Linked DNA regions of Homo sapiens: regions 1, 2, 3 and 4 are each linked to region 5. Evidence: promoter capture Hi-C in 16 types of primary human blood cells and fetal thymus (Javierre and others, 2016). All regions are on one chromosome and are shown on one strand. Each heading gives the region's core, a stretch centred on a gene start or on the middle of the fragment in contact. The rest is flanking DNA. Distances are from core to core; before and after follow the strand shown.

Region 1 (2,700 bases), core at 74-2,573, 500 kb before region 5:
TGGCTCAACTCCACCTTTTGTTACTGGTACTCAAGATTCAATGAGTGATGCCACTTTTGAAGAGTCTTCAGAGCACTTTCCACATTTTAGTGAACCAGGTGATGACTTTGGAGAATTTGGGGATATAAATGCTGTTTCTTGCCAAGAGGAGACAATATTAACAAAGTCAGACCTAAAACAGACTTCTGATAATTTATCAGAAGAATGTCAATTGGCAAGAAAATCTAGTGGAACAGGCACTGAACCTGTTGCAAAACTTAAAAATGGGCAAGAAGGTGAGATTGGACATTTTGATTCTGTGCCAAATATTCAGGATGACTGCAATGGTTTTCAAGACTCTGATGATTTTGCAGACTTCAGTTCAGCTGGTCCTAGCCAAGTTGTAGATTGGAATGCTTTTGAGGATGAACAAAAAGATAGTTGTTCTTGGGCTGCTTTTGGAGACCAGCAGGCTACTGAATCTCATCATCGAAAGGAAGCCTGGCAGTCACATAGGACAGATGAAAATATTGATACTCCAGGAACCCCCAAAACGCACAGTGTACCTTCAGCAACTTCCAAAGGAGCAGTTGCTAGTGGCCATTTACAGGAATCAGCCACTTCAGTTCAGGTATTTACTAATTTTCTCTATTTTGTATGATGTATTAATTGTTGTGGAGGCTTCTAATTTCAGCTTTTCAAAAAATATTTTTTCAACTGAGTACTTGTTAAAGGAGTCTCGTTATGATGTATAATGCCTGTCTGATTTGTGGGTTGGTTACATTTTTCACAACCCTTTGGGAAACTACAAATAGTCCTATAGTAAAGCGCAGTAAGATTTTTCTTTATCTCAATGAGTTTCGTTAATATTTACAGATACTCATCAACTTGGATTTTTTGGTGACTATAAATACCATATATGTTAAAAAAAAAAAAAAAAACCCACACTTATTACCTAATTGACGGTTCCAGTCAATCCTTCAGTATTACCCTTTACAGTGATTTTAAAAGAAGGTTAAACTGAGATTTGGATCTTTTTTTTTTTAAGCTTAAGAATAGAATGTTAATTTTTTCCATCAAAGACCTAGGAAATTCAAGTACGGTTTTGATTCCAGGAGAGAACAAGCAGAATTTGAAACCTCATTCTGTGCCAAAGGCTATAGTGAATTGAAGAACAGAAAAACAACTAGAAAAAAGCAAGTTTTTCTTTTTCCTCATAATTTAGCAGCTGCTAAAAGACTTGGGGTGAGGGTATGAGATGAATTAAGGTTTAGTCCTAAAATAAGAAATAACTATAGGTTCACTTATTGTAGTTGTATTTATTTGCCTATACTTTCTTACAAATGTACTTGTTAGCTCTTCCTAGAGAGTAGGTGTGTCAGGGAGAATATTTTTACCCCTTACCTCCTATACATTATCCTTTTTTGATTCAGACTCTTTCAGAAAAGATTCATTAAGATTCACTTTGACCTAAAGTAGCCCCTAGAGGTGTAGCTTGATATCTAGGTTGTTCCCCAGTCCAGAGTTCTACTCTGTGCTAAACTTTACCTTTTTTCAACTCCAGGGGTGTGGAAGAGGGCACTCCCTTGAACCTCACTGCCTTATACTGACAATTGATATATGTAACTAACACCTGATCCACAAGCTTATTTTAAATATACTGTTAATAAACTCAGAATCTACAAACTTTATTTCTCCAGTTATCTTCTGCTAAGAAAACCATTTTCAACTGGAAATCTTTCCAAAGTCTTTGTAATTGAAATACTTATATTTCATTGCCTTGATAACTTTGAGACAGTAAGATATTAGAGAAATTATGGTATTACCAGTTGGTGTGCATAGCTAATCGCTTTTTAGTTGGCTTTTGTGTCAAAGTAGTTTAATTTGCTAATTCAGTTATTACATGGTTTAGCTAATGTGTATTATTCCTATTGAGCAGTTCATTATTTAGGCAGAACCTTGCCATTTTAAACAAGAAGTGAACTAATTATGATGCTAAATGAGGACTGTTGCTTTTGACCTAACCCTTTCCCTATTTAGTTTCATCTCACTAGAGGATAGGGTGACACTGGTATTGGGTGATCTTTAATTTGTAGCCTTAGAACTTTTAACATCATCAGATAATGAATTTTTTAAAGTGTGACCACTCAAGTAGGAATTTCTTGCATCATACAAGTTGATTGAAGTTATTTATGTATAATTTGATAACTGGATATAGGAGATAATAAAGCGTATGGGCTTCATGGAATCTGACAGATCTGAGTTTGAATTTTGACCCAGCCTCTTAAAAAGCCTTATGATTTTTGGATAGGTTACTTCTGAATTCAGCTGTATATACAAAGAAGGTAATACCTACTTCAAAGAACTTTTGTGAATATAAAAGGAAATTTTAAAATGAGTGAAATAATCTGCTAGAAAATAAGAATTTTATAGTATGATTCTTTTTTTTATAAAAATAAAACAAACTATAGATGGGGCAAGATGCATTAAGAGTTTCTGAGACCAGGTGCAGTGGCTCATGCCTGTAATCACAGCACTTTGGGAGGCTGAAGTGGGTGGATCACTTGAGGTCAGGAGTTCTAGCCCTGCCTGGCCAACATGGTGAGACCCTGTCTCTACTAAAAATACAAAAATTAGCTGGGCGTGGTGACGTGCATCTGTAATCCCAGCTACTCAGGAGGCTGAGACAGGAGAATAACTTGAACCCAGCAGGTGGAGGTT
Region 2 (2,700 bases), core at 17-2,516, 350 kb after region 5:
GGAGGTTTTGGGAAGTAGGGGTGGAAATGGAAGGTTGGGGGCAGAAAGCAACTCACACTTCACTTTCCTTCTGCTTAGCACATCAGCCCACCTTGCTGTACACAAGAGGCAGGCTAAAAATAGTAACATCGTTTTCCTTTCCACCCTTGCAGGAAGCTAACCTGTTCCACCAGAATGGCCTGATAAAGGCAGCCGCACTTCCTTAGAGATAAAATCCACCTTTCCTGAGAGCTCAGCCTTGAGAGTGAGGCAGGGCCCTCCATCAAGCTGCCTGCCTTGGAGGCTCAGGCAGGGCTCTGGTCCAAGTTACTGGACAGTGGAAAGTTTAGTCTCTCTTTTTTTTTTTTTTTGAGACGGAGTCTCGCTCTGTCGCCCAGGCTGGAGTGCAGTGGTGCCATCTCGGCTCACTGCAAGCTCCACCTCCTGGGTTCACGCCATTCTCCTGCCTCAGCTCCTGAGTAGCTGGGACTACAGGCACCCACCACCATGCCCGGCTAATTTTTTGTATTTTTAGTAGAGATGGGGTTTCACCATGTTAGCCAGGATGGTCTCGATCTCCTGACCCCATGATCTGCCCGCCTTGGCCTCCCAAAGTGCTGGAATTACAGGTGTGAGCCATAGTCTCTTTCTCAAATGGGGCGCTGGCTCCTTTTTTTTTTTTTGCTAAAAGTCCCATGACAGAAGGATTCTGACTTCACAGCTAATGTGAACTGACAATGAAGACTCCCAAACCACAATAACTTAACAGGAAACTGAGGTGGCTGCAGGTGTGTGTGTGTGCGTGTGTTGTGTATTGGGGGGCATTTTGGGGGGCATTTTGATTGTCTTCATCAAGTCAAGATTCAGCACGAGGGGGTTCTAATCTATTGCTGTGTAGCCATGAGAGCTGCAATCAAGAAGGTAGGTGCATGGCATGCAAACTTCCTCTCTGCAGGGGGTGGGAAGTGCTGCCAACTTAAAGCTTATCTCATTCTGAGTCTTCATGTCAATGACTGTCATGCACATCCCTGTTCACATGCCTTGGAAATCTAGGTTTGGGTGTCTGGTTTGGTTAAACCAAAAGATCAACTCTCCTCAGCTGGATCACTTGTCCTTTCACCCGTGGAGACGCGGTATCCACTCATGCCTCCGTGCACACAGGTAGACAGAAAAGGGTGGGAAAGGTGGAGCACAGGGAACCTCCCCATAACTCCAACTGGAGGACAGTTCTCTCTTCCACTCTTGGGAGTGTCTTAAAATACTAACATGACCGAGTGCAAAGCTCTAGCTATATTTTTACTTCTCAGAACAAACAACAACAAAATATCAAAAGCTGGGCAAGGGAGCCAGAGGTCTAAAGGGGCAAGAAGAAAGAATGTTATCAAAACGATTATGACATGGTCCCTGTGTAGAGAGGCATTCCCTAATAGGCCACCAACCCAGGCTATCTTCCTTTTACCCATCAGTCTGATTTCAGCTCCTCATAAAACCAGTCTCTTGAGCTTCTCTCCTTGCCTGCTGGTTCCATCTTCTTAAGATCTTATCAGAGGAGCAAGATCCTTCCCTTCTGCCCAGACCTTGGGTCCTTTCAACAAAGCTTTAGGCTGAAACTTCTTTCCAGACACCAGTAATGATCACCCGGCATGTATTAGGCACCTCAAACATGTCAGACACTGCTGCGGACACTTTCATGTGCTACATGTAATTTAATCCTCACAAGCCTCATACTATGAGTCCTATTTGACAGACAAGAAAGCTAAAGTTTGGGAAGATAAATATGCAGTATAAGGTAGAGTCAGAATTCAAAATCAGCTCCCCTGACTTTGAGGCAGAAGCTGTTTTTATGATGCCACAGATTCCTGTAGGAATTCCTTGTATCCCTTCTTCTCTGAATTGATCATAGAGCTCCAGGCAAATTGCTCGGACCAGAACCAGAGCCCCCTTCCAATGTCTGTATGTATAATCCCAGTCGCCAGCCACAGGAATTAGTCAGTTACATAAGGGGACTTTTGAAGTTCTTTTTTTTTTTTTTGAGACGGAGTCTCACTCTGTCACCTAGGCTGGAGTGCAGTGGCGCGATCTGCAACCTCTGCCTTCTGGGATCAAGCAATTCTTCTGCCTCAGCCTCCTGAGTAGCTGGGACAATAGTCACGTGCCACCACACCCAGCTAATTTTTGTATTTTTAGTAGAGATGGGGTTCCACTATACTGGCCAGGCTGGTCTTGAACTCCTGACTTTGTGATCCGCCTGCCTTGGCCTCCCAAAGTGCTGGGATTACAAGCGTGAGCCACTGCACCTGGCTCTAAAGTTCTTAATAGCCCATAAATATTGCCCTAATTCTGCCTTTCATCATAACCCTTATATCCTATAGTCCTTAGCCTGTGTGAGACCACAATTACCTGTAGATATCTCAAAAGTCACAGATGTCATTTACAGATCACCTCTTCATCGACCCCAGACCTTTATGCACATAAATCAACTGACTTAATACAACAGCCCAGAAAAGGAAGTATTATGAGCCCTTTTTCTATATTCAAGGACACTGAAGTTTTTGAAAGGTTCAGGTAATTTAACACTGGTCGCACAGCTAATAAGCAGCAAAGGGAAATTCACACCCAGGTCTGTCCTAGTCTAAGAGGTACTGTCTAACACAGTAGCAGCCAGCAGCCACAAGTGGCACTGAGCACATGAAAATGGAGATGTGCTCCAATTATAACATA
Region 3 (2,700 bases), core at 108-2,607, 380 kb after region 5:
GGGTGTCATTAGCGCTCGGTTATCAGTTCCTTCCGGTCTCCCCGAGCTCAACCCTGCGCGCGGCCGGGCCGCGCCTCGGGCGATCTGGTGCCTTTATTATGATGTTTAAGTAAGCAGTCGTGTGTGCCAAGTGAGTTTGTAGCCCAGCTGTCTCCCCCAAGCCCCGCTGGCAGGAATGGAAACCCAAGCTCTCTCGTAATGCAGGGGATGATGCAAACTTAGAAACTGACCCGGCGCCCGGGAATGAGGCCCCCCCGCCCCGGGCGTGCGGCGGCCCAGTCGGGGCATGAATGGCTGGAGCCCGATTGCATAATCCGCGCGGTATAAATAGCCGGCGGGCGGGCCGCTGACGCGCTCGGTTGTGCCGTTATCGTGCAATGCTTCATCCCCGGTGCCGTTCAATCCCAGGTCGTTTTCCCTTTCAGCTGCAATGCCGGGATTTTAAATAGCAGAGATGAAAGGCCCCTGCCCCCGCCTCCCTCCTCCCCTGAGTTCATGTATTATGAATGAAACGGCAGCCTCGCTGCTTCCTGAGGTGCTCCACTTCAGGTAGGAGAGAGACTCAATGTCAAGGCAGCTGGCTACTAAAAGTTGGGTGTGTGCGCGCGTTGGGGAGGGACGGAGACCAGGAAATAATTGACAGGCTGGGAAACATTCTTTTCGAGAAAATGTAACCGCTCAGGGTTTGCCTCTGGAGTTTCAGTTTACAACTGTACAAGCCTCAGTCAATTTAAGAATGGATTATGCAAAGGGGCTTTCGACTGCGGCTTGCTCGCCCTCACACCCTAGGCCGCTGTCTCTGTGGAAAGTGCTGTTTCATTCAGAGGAGCTGGTTTCTGCCCTCCCAGGGAGGCAGCACACATCCCCTCTCCCCTCTCATCCCCCACTTTAAGATGAGCCCTGAGAACCCTTGAGGGTCTCGAGAAAAGCGAATGCTGGTCACTGTAGCCATTCTCTAGTTCCAGAACCTCTTGGAAGCCTCAGCGAGGTCCAAAGCTGAGTAAGTTTTAAAACGTATTTTTTTTCCAACAGTTTTTCAACAATAGGTAGTCATTTTAAAAATTAAAGGATGAAGCAAGTTTTCGTCTTCTCATGAATACCAGATTTCAACTTAATTTCTTAACATAAAAATGGCCAGTTCTTCACAAATGCATTTCTGACATGTGAAGGGCAATGGTCAAGGTCATGATTTTTTTCACTGGATACCCATTGCTCCAGTCTGCCTTGAAAGCACCAGGGCTCTATGAGGCAGTGGGGATACAGGAGTGAAGAAACCCAGGCTCCTTCCCTCCAGGGATTCGGTCAGCTGGGGCAACAGGCATGTAAAAAACACATGAGGCCGCGAGGTAACAGCTCTGAAAAATGGAGTAAGCAGAAGAGAAAGCAGGGGTCAGGGAAAGGATCCTTGAAAGATGCTGGGAGTGCCCTTAGATAACTGGAAGGGGAGAGATCTCGGGGATAAAGAGCCGGGTTACCACAAAGGCCCTAGGTGCGAAATAACTTTGGGAGGAGGGGGAAGGAGGTGCGGGAAAGGGTGGAGAAGGGTAGAAGCCAGGTCAGGGAGGTCACACAGGCCTTGCTGAAGAAGGTTACCCTTTATTTTGAAATCATGGAACCTTTTGTAGTCGATTCACAGCTGATCTTTGTCTAGTCCCAGATCACTGCAGTGGCTCCCAAAGTTATGCAAATGTGGGGCAAGTGGGCATCCATTGTTCTGGGATTAGGGCATCAAACCAAATTCACAAACTGACAGCTCCTAGGCCAGATAAGGCCCCAGACAAGTTTTGTTTTGCCTGTTTTTTTTTGTTGTTGTTGTTGTTTTTTAATCAAGCTAACAGCTTAAAACCAGAATATTTCACATAAAACTCAATATTTTTGGTTCCTCCTGAAAAAAATTAAAGACTTAGCAACTGTGAGTGCCAGATTTCTGCGGGGTAACAGTGGATGGTTGCTGAGTGGAGGCTGCCCTGTCTGTCAGGCTTCTGGCTCCTGGAGGCATTTGAGCTTTTGACCCCTGGCATAACAGGATGTTTTGTGACTGGGTGAAGGCCCCACTCTGAGACCCCAGGCTGGTAGAGCTTGTCACTGGGTAAAAGCAATTTGCATGAGGAGCGCTGGGCCTCTTGGGAGGCCAATCCCCAATCTCCTTACCAAAGACACTGTATTCTACCTAGGCAGGCAGCCCACAGGCAGGGAGCAGTGAGGCTCCTAAAATAACAATGAACATTGATCCCAGCTTGGGCTCTGTTTCTAGGGAACCCAACCTAAGAGAAGTAGGCTCTCTCCCACCAGGGGAGCTGGAGGGGCTCAAGTGATCAGCTGAGAAAATCACCAAATTTGTGGAACAAGTTTTACAAGTTACATAACCAAATAGTTTAAGCAGGGAATGCTAGGCTCAGGTTTTATACTTTAATAGGTTATTCTAGGCTTGAAGGATGGTTTGTTGGGAGCAGAGCAAAGACTGGTTTGGGAGAAATTTTCCTCTTCCATGACAGGAGTAACAATGCATGATAAAGCACAGTGACAAGGGCCATGGAAAGAAGTAACCAATTCCAAAGACACAAATGGGGTAGAAATGACTTGGCTTTATGATCTGTTAGATATGGGGGCTCATTGAGAGGTCTAGGATAAATTCCAAGTTTCTTTCCCTTTTCCTTGGGAAATTGGGTGTTTTCTGGTCTCTTAACATGATTAGGGTAA
Region 4 (2,700 bases), core at 152-2,651, 440 kb before region 5:
GAGAAAGACTCTGTCTCAAAAACAAACAAACAAACAAACGGAAAAACCTAACAATGTGGGAGGGGTTTAAAGAAGAGAGCTCAGTCACATGAGAGAACAATCTGCAGCCATCAAAAAATCCCATTTTCAAAACAGTTCTAATGACATGGAGAATTGCTCATGATATGAGGTAAAAAGCAGCATAGAAAATGGTATTGTATGATACCTACTTTATGCAAAATACATATTATTTGCCTAAGGAAACATATATTTTTAAAAAGGACTGGAAGAGAGTTTGTCAAAATATTAACAATGATTTTCTTTGGGTGATGGGTTCATAGGTGATATTTGGTTTCTGCTTTATTTTGTCTGTTTTCCATAATGAGCACATGTTACTTTTGAATTAGAAAAATAATTTAAGAACCTGCAATGTTCTAAGCATTGTGCCAGACTCAAAGATGAATAAGCTACAAAGACGTATTTTCTGCCTTGGAGGAACTCATCATGGTCAATGGAGATAAGAGGTAGCCAGAAAATCGCAGTGTGGGGCAGGGTGGGACAAGTGTATAAGAGAGAGAGGGGCAGGACGCAGTGGGAGCTCAGGGGAAGGACAGAAGACATCCCCTGAAATCTAAGTTCCCTGGGAGCTGGCACCTAGGAGGTCAGCAGAGCAGGGTGGGGTCAGAGTCCCAGCTCTGCTCCCTGATGCCCTGTAGCTTTGGGCAGGTTTCACTAACTAGTCTGGCTTTCCCGTCTGTAAAATGGGATAATGAAAGGTTTTTGTGAGCAATTAATAAGGTAATGAATACAAAACATGGTCCCTGGCACAGAGTAAGTGCTCAATAAAAATTACATTTACAATAGAATTTCTAAAGTCAAGTCTGGGCAGGAAAGTGCAAGGGTAGCGAGGAACTGGTTGAGGTTGCTTGGGGTTCACAGGGAAAGGGTGGGAGACAGGATACAGGATGCCAGCCAAGGGGCACAGCTTCTGGCATAGGTGCTGCACCGCCCTGGAGGCTGGGGGACCAGTTGGGTGGGGGTTGCCTCCTGTGCCCCCTGAGCAACAGAATAATGGAGGATGGCTTGGGGATGAAAGGATGGAGAGTCAACGGGCACAGTGGCTCACGCCTGTAATCCCAGCACTTTGGGAAACCAAGGCGGGTGGATCACCTGAGGTCGGGAGTTTGAGACCAGCCTGATCAATATGGTGAAACCCCACCTCTAACAAAATTAGCCGGTCATGGTGAGCATGCCTGTAATCCCAGCTACTTGGGAGGCTGAGGCAGGAGAATTGCTTGAACCCGGGAGGCGGAGGAGGTTGCAGTGAGCCGAGATCGCGCCATTGCACTCTAGCCTGGGCAACAAGAGTGAAACTCCATCTCAGAAGAAAAAAGAAAGGATGGAGAGTCTGGAGCTAAACTCAAAGCCCTTAGCCCTGACTGGAGAGGGTGAGGGCATGAAGGGACCTCCACAAATCACCCTTGGCATTAATCAAGCATCTACAGTGTTGTATGTGCTCTGTTTTTAGTCCTGTTATAACCTTGAATATCAACATTACTATCTCCATTTTACAGATGCAGAAACTGAGGCCCGGGACCACACACCTGACACCAAGTGGACTAGGATTCAGGCCGTTGACCATATTCTTTCAACTTCAGGAGCAACAGCACCTGGAGGACCCAAATTTGCTGTCATCCTCCACGAGGCCTCAGCAGTCTCCAACATGGAAGGGCACTGAGCCAGCCTGGGGGTTTCCAGGGACCTTCCTGACTGAACACTGGAAAGACCCTTTCATTCCATCCTGTCCCCCAGGTGGGACCCCACGCCCTGAGGTGGAACAGAGGTGAAGAGGAAGGGGAGCGGCTCCTGTGCATTTTAATAGAAATGAATTCAAGTAAGTGTGAGAATGTCATAAATCCCTCAAGAGGGCTAGAGGTGGTGGAGGAGCCCCTGTATCCCCAGGTGATCCCTCTGATGCCTTGACAGGTTCTCTCCTGAAGGACTCAGTTCCTTGGGCCCAAACTTCTCCAGTCTCTCATGAAAGGAGATGAACTGCTTCAGATAAAGTGCTAATCTTCAGCCTCAAAGTCCTCAGAAGGGTAAGATTGCTATGTATCTGAAGATGGGTGCAATAGAAAAGCAAATGTCCCATAAGACCCCAGCTCTCTCCTCCTCCACTGAGAGCGCACACTGTCTACAGGGCAAGTCTCGTTGCTTGAGAAAGTTCTTTTAATTTTTTCCAATCCACCTGGCAAAGAGCCTGACCACAACGTCTGTCTCACCCTCCTTCCCGAAACTTCGGTCTCCCCCATGGGATTTTCAGAATTTGGGAGGGGGTGCTGTGTTGCTTTGCAGTTCTGCTGCCCATTTTTCACAAGAGAAAACTGGGTGTCAACGAAATGAGAATAGATTCTGCAGTGAAAGCATTTGGAGCCAGACAGTGGGAGAAATCTGATGTATAACAGTGGTTTTCAACCACGGCTGCAAATTAGAAGCACAAGAACACTTCAAAAAATACTCATACCCAGGCCCCACCAAATATTTATCTTGAGATGGGATGCTTTCTTGCCTGCTTTCCTTGTGTGTGGGGTGTGTGTATGTGTGCTTGTGTGTGTGATATGTGTGTTTTAAAAAGTCTTCCAGGTGATTCTAATATGCCAGAGCTAAGAATTACTCACCTAAAATAAGACAACTGTGTTAGAAAGAATATCCAATAGAGAA
Region 5 (2,700 bases), core at 143-2,642:
GCAGCAAATGTGTGAAGGCTGGCTGTTACTTAATGGACCAGTGGTGGTGGTGGGATTCAAATTCTTATTAAAAAACAAAAGCAAACAAACAAAGAAAAGCTATGCGATGCCCAAATAAAACCATCTGTGGGCTAGCTGCTGCTGTTGTCCAAAGTTTGTGGCCCCTGGGTTAGACAAAACCTCTGAGCTGTCCTGACAGGTCTGGGAAAACCAAACAAGTCCTTGTCTCCTAAACTACCTGGGACTCAAGAGCTCTGTAGGAAAAAATTTGTACCCTGCACCCAGCTGGGGTTGACATTTACAGACGCCTGTTTTATGAACTGGGGAGATATTCAGTTGAAGCCAGATTGCTGAAAGTGCTGCTGAGAGAAAATCATCAGAAGGGAGGGCCTCTTCCCCACGCCACCCTGGTGGTAGTTCCTCTATGCCTCCGGATTCTGCTAAGCAGTAAAAGCTAAAGGGCAGTGTCATTAAGCTCCTAGGGGATGGGATGCAGTGGCTCACACCTGTAATTCCAGCACTTTGGGAGGCCGAGGCGGGAGGATCGTCTGAGTCCAGGAGTTCAAGCCCAGCCTGGGCAACACAGCAAGACCCCATCTTTGCAAAATAGATAGATAGATAGAGATGTATGAAAGTTACTAGGTCCCATGCTGGCAGGGGAGAGAGTGAGCACCCTGGCCTCCCACAAGCTGCCTCCCACTTCCCTCCGACTCCATCACCGATTTCCCATCAGAGCAGGCTGCTCAGAGTGGCTAAGTAGCTACCAGTTCATTTTCCACACCCTTCCCATTCTCCACGAGCCAGAGCTCCACCTCCCCCCAGAAGCTGTCTTCAACCACCCGGCCTGGGGAGCTCCCCTCAGCACTGGCTCCCCGCCCCGCCTCGCAGCACCTGTTCGGGCCTCGGTCGCGCCGCCGGGTCTTGCAGACGCGAATGTAAACAGAAACACAGTGAAAGGCGTTCGGAGAGCCTCGTGACTGCGGCACGGCGGCGAGCCGGGAACATCAGTGCGTCCAGAGCAAAATGAACGAATGTACGCATGACTCCTGGAGCGACCTTCACGAGGGAAAGCGCGCCCCCCGGCACCCACCCCTAAGCGCCCCAAAATGACCAGCCTTTACACAACCCAGCTCGCAGGCGAAGCTGAGGTCGGAGCTCCAAAAGCGAGGGAGGACAGCCGCTGAAGAAGTCCCGGCTTCCCATAGGCCAGGACGAAGTAGGGGGCGGGCTCATCTTGCAGGAGCGTCCACGTATTGGTGGAGCCGCGGACTTAGAGCTGCGATTCGCTGCGCGAAATTGCCGAAAGCCCTCCCGCGGAGGGAGAAGGGGCGGGAAGAAGGGCGTGGTCAGCGCGGCCGAAGGGCGTGGTTGGCGCTCGGTCCTGCCCTGCGCGTTTTGGGCTGCGGTTGGAGGGCCGCAGTTGCAGTCAGGGTCCGCCAGCTCGGGGCCAGCGCATGGGGCTGCTGAGACCGCTCCGGACGTGCGAAGCGTTCGCGGTGCGGTAGGTAGGCAGTGTCCCGCGTGCGGGTGCTGGTGTCGGGGGTGCCGCGGCGCTGGGGGCGGTGGCCCGGGCTAGATCCGCGCGCGCGCCCGGCCCCCTCCCCCGCGTCTCTTCGGTGCCTGCGGGGCCCTTGCGGTGCGGGCCGTCTGGCCTCGCGTCCCCGCCGGCAAGGGCACAAAGGCTCCCTGGGGGGCGGGGGCGCCTCGTGCCTTCGCCTCCATCTTGCGAGCGGAACGGCGTGTGCTGTGGCGGCCGAGGGGTCGGGGCCGAGGCGGGCGGCTGGGCTTGGGAATGCCCGGGCGCGGCGAGGGAGTGCGCGAGTCCGCGCATCTGGCGGCCGAGCAGCTGCGCCGCTGGTCGGCCTGGGCCCCGGGGGAGGTCACTTTCCCTCAGGCCTCTCCCGGGCGTGGGCTGTTTACCCAGCTCCCCAGTCGGGGCTAATGCAGCTCGGGCCTTTCCCCCTGGAAAGATGGAGACCAGTGATGTCTTCTTATCGCCGCGCCCAGATGCGGAGAGAAAAAATCAAGATGTCTCATTTTTTTTGCCTCGGAGGGCTACCCTTTCTAACTGTCATCACTAGAACAGTTCTCAGCAGCCTGGGGACGAATGTCCAAAACCTGTTCCAGGCCCTTGATGATTAGTAGGTTGGGTTTAGTGTATTGTTTGTAACAAAAATGAGCGGAAGCCTGCCAGGGCAGATTGGACCTCACTGGGAATTCATCAGGACCACGAAGGGAGGTAGCGTTTGTAAATAATCTAACAGTTCTCAGATCTAGGGTATGAAGAGTGTTGTGTTAAAGTGTGTAACAAAGGTTGTTGGGTCAGTTTGCCTTGGGTTTAGTTGAAAGATCTAGAAGTCACCACTTTTTACTTTGTTCCCTCCATTCCCCTTTCCCACCCTCTGTTGAGTCAATTCTGGCCCACTTAGAAAACAACAACAACAAAAAACCCAAGGAATTCAGTTTAACCTCTTTTGCGCAAAGCTTTTTAAAGCACTTCCCCACCCTGCGACTGATAACTCCTCCCTTTTTTGGGCTACCTTCTGCAGCCTCTGTTTTTACTCATCACACTGTATTGTGGTTTCCCCAGCCCCTAGCACAATGCTTGGAACATAAAAGGCACTCAATGATGGAAGGAAGCCAAAAGGAAACAAAATCAGCGTGGTAGTCTAAAGGTGACACAACAGAAACATTTATTTA

What was found. The method cuts DNA at HindIII sites, captures the fragments that hold promoters and counts their contacts. A CHiCAGO score of 5 or more calls a contact.
Region 1: a contact is called between a fragment that was not itself captured here and the fragment with the promoter of CEP68 in region 5, in 1 of 17 cell types (monocytes). The highest score is 5.4, in monocytes.
Region 2: a fragment that was not itself captured here is called in contact with the fragment with the promoter of CEP68 in region 5 in 1 of 17 cell types (fetal thymus); the score reaches 5.7 in fetal thymus.
Region 3: a fragment that was not itself captured here is called in contact with the fragment with the promoter of CEP68 in region 5 in 2 of 17 cell types (fetal thymus and erythroblasts); the score reaches 7.0 in fetal thymus.
Region 4: a fragment that was not itself captured here is called in contact with the fragment with the promoter of CEP68 in region 5 in 1 of 17 cell types (erythroblasts); the score reaches 5.5 in erythroblasts.

What each region holds. Positions count from the first base shown.
Region 1 is chr2:64,552,800-64,555,499 of GRCh38, forward strand. It overlaps AFTPH (aftiphilin), which reads left to right. Exons shown (of 10, transcript NM_203437.4): 2 at 1-610. All of the region lies in intron 5 of LOC105374773 (a long non-coding RNA gene), which reads right to left. Among named protein-coding and RNA genes, the nearest start is that of MIR4434, 29 kb to the left of the region's middle. The HindIII fragment of the contact is 597 bases long and covers 1,026-1,622 here.
Region 2 is chr2:65,406,597-65,409,296 of GRCh38, forward strand. The region is part of intron 1 of SPRED2 (sprouty related EVH1 domain containing 2); the gene reads right to left. Among named protein-coding and RNA genes, the nearest start is that of SPRED2, 25 kb to the right of the region's middle. RefSeq lists an enhancer at 344-393. The HindIII fragment of the contact is 615 bases long and covers 960-1,574 here.
Region 3 is chr2:65,436,334-65,439,033 of GRCh38, forward strand. No RefSeq gene overlaps it. Among named protein-coding and RNA genes, the nearest start is that of SPRED2, 5.1 kb to the left of the region's middle. RefSeq lists a silencer at 263-421 and an enhancer at 1,016-1,822. The HindIII fragment of the contact is 3,999 bases long and covers 1-2,700 here.
Region 4 is chr2:64,611,213-64,613,912 of GRCh38, forward strand. LINC02579 (long intergenic non-protein coding RNA 2579) reads left to right here. Exons shown (of 4, transcript NR_034023.1): 2 at 1,554-1,873; 3 at 1,966-2,078. Among named protein-coding and RNA genes, the nearest start is that of LINC02579, 5.3 kb to the left of the region's middle. The HindIII fragment of the contact is 5,627 bases long and covers 1-2,700 here.
Region 5 is chr2:65,055,024-65,057,723 of GRCh38, forward strand. CEP68 (centrosomal protein 68) reads left to right here and starts at 1,393. Exons shown (of 7, transcript NM_015147.3): 1 at 1,393-1,505. RefSeq lists an enhancer at 986-1,225 and silencers at 1,326-1,435, 1,516-1,855, 2,486-2,535, 2,546-2,625. The HindIII fragment of the contact is 3,790 bases long and covers 1-2,482 here.